Linked DNA regions of Homo sapiens: region 1 is linked to region 2. Evidence: promoter capture Hi-C in human tissues and cell types (Jung and others, 2019). All regions are on one chromosome and are shown on one strand. The core of a region is centred on a gene start or on the middle of the fragment in contact, and the rest is flanking DNA. Distances in the headings are between cores, read along the strand shown. Region 1 overlaps EFTUD2 (elongation factor Tu GTP binding domain containing 2). Region 2 holds the start of ADAM11 (ADAM metallopeptidase domain 11).

What was found. The method cuts DNA at HindIII sites, captures the fragments that hold promoters and counts their contacts. A contact is called where the count stands out against the background at its distance.
Region 1: a fragment that was not itself captured here is called in contact with the fragment with the promoter of ADAM11 in region 2 in 2 of the 25 tissues and cell types used here (H1 embryonic stem cells and lymphoblastoid cells).

Annotation. Positions count from the first base shown.
Region 1 is chr17:44,895,639-44,898,338 of GRCh38, forward strand. The region is part of intron 1 of EFTUD2 (elongation factor Tu GTP binding domain containing 2); the gene reads right to left. Among named protein-coding and RNA genes, the nearest start is that of EFTUD2, 2.5 kb to the right of the region's middle. The HindIII fragment of the contact is 4,028 bases long and covers 1-2,700 here.
Region 2 is chr17:44,757,619-44,760,318 of GRCh38, forward strand. It overlaps ADAM11 (ADAM metallopeptidase domain 11), which reads left to right and starts at 1,370. Exons shown (of 27, transcript NM_002390.6): 1 at 1,370-1,642; 2 at 2,104-2,279. The coding sequence starts at 1,582. RefSeq lists an enhancer at 1,011-1,562. The HindIII fragment of the contact is 11,776 bases long and covers 1-2,700 here.

The sequences.
Region 1 (2,700 bases), core at 85-2,584, 140 kb after region 2:
CAGTCCTTAATAGAAAAAGTTTGCCAACCTCTCCCTCACCATGTGTAATTCCTACAAACAAGAACATTCTCCTACATAACCACAATACAACCATCAAAATCAGAAAATTGATATTCACACATTACTACCACCTTCTTTACAGATCCCATTCAAGTTTCACAGATTGTTCCAATAATACCTTACACACCTAAGGATCCAATCCAGGATCATGTTTGCATTTGGTTGTCATGTCTCTAGTCTCTTTGGATCTACAATCTTCAGTCTTTGGATCTACAATCTTCAGTCTTTCCTTCCAAGGACTGTCATGAAATCCTTAAGGATGTCCCTTGATTTGAGGTTGTCTGATGTTACCTTATGATAATATTCAGGTTATGCGTTTTGGGCAGGAATATCATAGAAGTGATGCTGTGTTCTTCTCAATGCATTTCGTATCAGGTGATACATGATTTCAATTTGCCCCATTAGTGGTAACGTTAACTTTGATCACTTCATTAAGGTGATGTTTGCCAGGCCTCTCCATTGTAAAGTTACTCATTTTCCCTTTGTAATTAAGTAGTGTTTTGTGGGTTTTCTCCACTTCAATTACTGAAATTCTATTCAAAGAAACAGTTCAAATGCCACCACCTCCTTCAAGCTTTCCTAGCTCCTCAATTTCTCATTCCTCTATCCTACTAGAGCTTTTTGCACCTTTATCAGTATTTAATTTTGTCTTAAATAGTAGTTAACTGGCTGGGCACAGTGGCTCATGCCTGTAATCCCAGCACTTTGGCAGGCCAAGATGGGCGGATCATGAGGTCAGGAGATAGAGACCATCCTGGCTAACACAGTGAAACCCCGTCTCTACTAAAAATACAAAAAATTAGCCAGGTGTGGTGGCACACACCTGTAGTCCCAGCTACTCAGCAGGCTGAGGCAGGAGAATCACTTGAATCCAGGAGGCAGAGGTTGCAGTGAGCTGAGATCGCACCACTGCACTTCAGCCTGGCTGACAGAGTGAGACTCCGTCTCGAAAAAAATAAACAAAATAAATAAACAAATAGTAGTTACTAATTACCATCACCAACTATAGTTTATAAGCAATAAATAACAGACTAGAGCATCAGGGCTCTGGAGTTGGAAGACTTAGATTCAAATCCCAACTTTGTCACCAACAACTATGTAACTTGAGGTAAGTTACTTCATCTCTTCCAACCTGATTCCTATTCTTCAACTGGAAAATGGAATGAATAATCCTCACTGAATAAATGGTTATGAGGATTAAATAAAACACCCTGTGTAAAGAATTTACCAGAGTCCAGCTGGGTGCAGTGGCTCACGCCTGTAATCCCAGCACTTTGGGAGGCTGAGGTGGGTGGATCACGAGGTCAGGAGATCGAGACCATCCTGGCTAACACGGTGAAACCCTGTCTCTACTAAAAATACAAAAAATTAGCCAAGTGTGGTGGTGGGCGCCCGTAGTCCCAGCTACTGGGGAGGCTGAGGCAGGAGAATGGTGTGAACCCAGGAGGCGGAGCTTGCAGTGAGCGGAGACAGCGCCACTGCACTCCAGCCTGGGTGACAGAGAGAGACTCCGTCTCAAAAAAAAAAAAAAAAAAAAAGAATTTACCAGAGTCCTAGGCTCAATAAACGTTAGCTAGCATTATTTTTTGCCATCCTTGATCATGAGAACCCTGTGTTCCATGCACCTGCTTCTTCTCTTCACTTCTTTTATGATACTAAATTTAATTTTAAAATAATACCAAAAAGTGGCAAGAACAGTACAAATAACTTTCTTTTCCCCAAATATTTGACAGTATGCTGCTGACACAATGCCTCTTCACCTCCTAATACTTTAGAGCAAGAGTTGACAAACTCTGACCTGTGGCCAAATCTGGCCCCTCCAACTGTTTTTGCATGGTCCTCCAGCTAAGAATGCATTTTACATTTTTATTTTTTTATTTTTTTGAGACGGAGTCCCGCTCTGTTGCCTAGGCTGGAGTGCAGTGGCACGATCTCGACTCACTGCAACCTCCGCCTCACAGGTTCAAGCGATTCTCCTGCCTCAACCTCCCAAGTAGCTGGGATTACAGGCACCCGCCATCACACTTGGCTAATTTTTGTATTTTTAGTAGAGACGGGGTTTCAACCATGTTGGCCAGGCAGTCTCGAACTCTTGACCTCAGGTGATTAGCCCACCTCGGCCTCCCAAAGTGCTGAGATTACAGGTGTGAGCCACCGCACCCGGCCACATTTTACATTTTTAAATAATTGAGAAAAAAGTACCAATGCTAACACAGCCAATAGCCAAGACAGCACCTTGCATAAGTAGGAACTGGATAAATGTTAACTGAATGGGATGTTTAATTTTAAGATGCTGATATTTCTTGGATTAGACTGATACCTCCAACTCCCTCAATGCCACCTGCTGGGTGCTGAATGTAGAGAGAGAATTGGAGCTCCAAGGACCAATAATTAAATGTAAATTATTATGGAAACTTTCACATGCATATTCTTTTTACTTCTAAAAAGCTACTATCGCATTTATGCTTATCTCATTCTCCCAAGACCCCAGTCAAGGGATTGAAGAAATTATTTATTTATTTTATATATATTTTTTGAGACAGAGTTTTGCTCTTGTTGCCCAGGCTGGAGTACAACGGCACGATCTCAGTTCACTGCAACCTCCGCCTCCTGGTTTCAAGCGATTCTCCTGCCTCAGCC
Region 2 (2,700 bases), core at 120-2,619:
CAGGAGCCTCCTCATGCCTACATCTTGGAGGAGGTTCTCAAGATGTCTCCAGAGCGAAGGAAGAATTGGCTCAGCCTTACTGAGCATCTGGGCCTGGCATGGCAGGTGGTTGGGGGTGGGGGGAGTCACTTGGTTCCCTACATTGATGTCAGCGCCTCCTGGGAAATCGCCTTCTCACCTCTCCTGGGCCTAAAATAGAGCGGGGGGTGGGGGTGTCACAAGCTAGAGGCAGTTCCCTCATCCCCAGCAGAGGCCCTGGGTCCTTGCGGAAGCAGAGGACCCAGGAAGGGGTTTCCTGCCTCCAATCTTGTTCTTCAGCAACCTGTGGTCCCCTAGCATGGGTACCAAAAAGGTCAGGGTGGGGACTCAGCGGCCCACCCACCATGCCCTACCACACCCCACACCATCTCAGGTATCTGGCCTTCAGCACCCCTAGCAGAAGTCTGAGGTCCCAGCCCTGGTATTGGGACCCAACATCCCCAGGAGCTGGGTGGAGGGCACAGCTGGGAATGTAGGTTGGGAGGTCAAGTATTTTGCAGACAGGGCAGCCTAGTCTGACCAGAGAGGGAATGCTGGGGGGCTCCAGAGGTGTCTTCTGCTCCTAAGGATTGGGACTAGCAAGGGAGGGGGAGCCATGGGGCATGCTAGCAGCATATAAGTGACCTGGCTAGTTTATATTTTATCTAGGAGGAAGGACAGGACGCCTGTGAGAGACTCAGGAACCCAGACGGACATGCCAGCCCTTCCTGATGGTTGGAGTGACAGCGATCCCTGAAGCCCTCCTGGAGGCCGGGGCATCTTTGGCGGGGAGAAGGAGCCGATGGGAAGGGGTCTGTACCGCGGGCGTGAGAGGACTCCGCAGTGACACGACCCGTAGCGAAGGTGCAAGAAATCCCAGAGGCGTAGAGCCCGGCGTTCGCCAAGAGCCTTTGCCCACCCCAACCCCAGCTTCCACAGCCTGGGGTCAAGCGGGGCGCTCCAAGCTGGGGCTGGGGCAGCCTCTCTGGGGTACCACGACAGAGGGGCGAACGTGGGCGCCGCAGCCACGCCCCTGCCCCCGGGCCCCAGACAGGCAGTCGCCGGGTCGACCCCGGGGGTACCCCGTCCCCTGCTTCCCTCCCCTACAAATCTACGAGTCCTCGGAGATGCTCAGGCAGAGGTGGCCGAGGAGAGGCCGCGGGATAAGTACGCGGAGCGCCACCGCCCCGCACCTGCCGAGGAGACTTCGAGGTGCGAGGAGGGACCCCGGGGCGGCGCCTCTTTTGTCCTGCCGCGGCGGCGGCCCGGGCCCTGCGGGGCTGGGGGGGCCGGGGGGCGGCGGGAGAGCGGAGGGCGGGCCCTGGGCTCACGTGCTCGCTGCTCAGCTCTTAACCCGGCCCCGCCGCCCCGCCGGGATGGCCGCGGCCGGAGCGCGCTGAGCCCCGGCGCCGTCCCTGCCGCCCCCACCTCTCCGCGACCCCCGCCCGGCCCCGCGCCCCCGCCCCGGCTCCGCAGCTGGCGCCTCCCCACCCCCGTCCCTGCTCCCGCCCTCCCCGCGCCGCTGGCAGCCGCAGCCCCCGGACCGGGAGGAATGAGCGAGCCATGAGGCTGCTGCGGCGCTGGGCGTTCGCGGCTCTGCTGCTGTCGCTGCTCCCCACGCCCGGTGAGTGACCCCCGCCCGGCCCCGGCGCCCCCTCCCTGCCCCCGCCCCGGGATGTGCGGCGCTTGCTGCTGCAGCCACCTTTTCCTGCAGTGCTCGGGGTGACAGCCGGTCCGGAGCGCGGGAGGGTAGGGGAGCGGGAGAGGAGGGAAGGTGCGTCCACCCACCTGTCCCCAGCTGGCCGGGCCCACCGCGTCCCTGCCCCTGCCGCCGACCGGCCAGCTCTGCAGGTCTCTGCGGGTTTGGGCGGATGGGGGGGCAGTCGTGACGGTTGGGCGGGAGTGAAGCTCCTGGCCCCCTCCCCGCGGGCTCTTGCCTCTGCAGGGCAGCCAGATCCTCCCACCCGGATCGCCCTAGGGCTCCAGGGGCCACACCAGAGTGGGGGATGAGGCATGCCCACCCCATTCCCAAGTCTTCTGCCCCAGGGTGGGCAGCTGCCTGCAGCCATGGCCTTGTTTCCCCAGGTCTTGGGACCCAAGGTCCTGCTGGAGCTCTGCGATGGGGGGGCTTACCCCAGCTGGGAGGCCCAGGAGCCCCTGAGGTCACGGAACCCAGCCGTCTGGTTAGGGAGAGCTCCGGGGGAGAGGTCCGAAAGCAGCAGCTGGACACAAGGGTCCGCCAGGAGCCACCAGGGGGCCCGGTGAGTGGGGCTGGGTGGTGAGGCCAGGGGCTGAAGCAGGCCTCAGAGCCCCAGGAAGCCCACGGGGTAACCAGGGTTGGAGTCCCCCTCAGCAGCTGCCCCGCAGGGTCCCCTTCTGTACAGTGGGCTATCCGGTGGGTGCTGGAGCCCACTGGTGGGGAGCACCAGGCCTGCCCAGCCCCAGGGCCCCCTTCCATTATTGTAGGGTCCCCTGCCCTCAGTGTACAGGGACCACTAATGCCTAGGTCTCAGGTCTGCTTTGGGTCAGCCTTCCAATGGCCCCCTGCTCTGCTCTGGCCAAAGCTAGTTGTTCTGTTCAAAACAGGGCTTGGATGGGGCAAGTTGGGGGCAGGGAGAGGCAGCCCAGATTCCAGTCAGGGATTAGGGCTCTCAGGTTCTCACCACAGCCACCTTAGTGGGC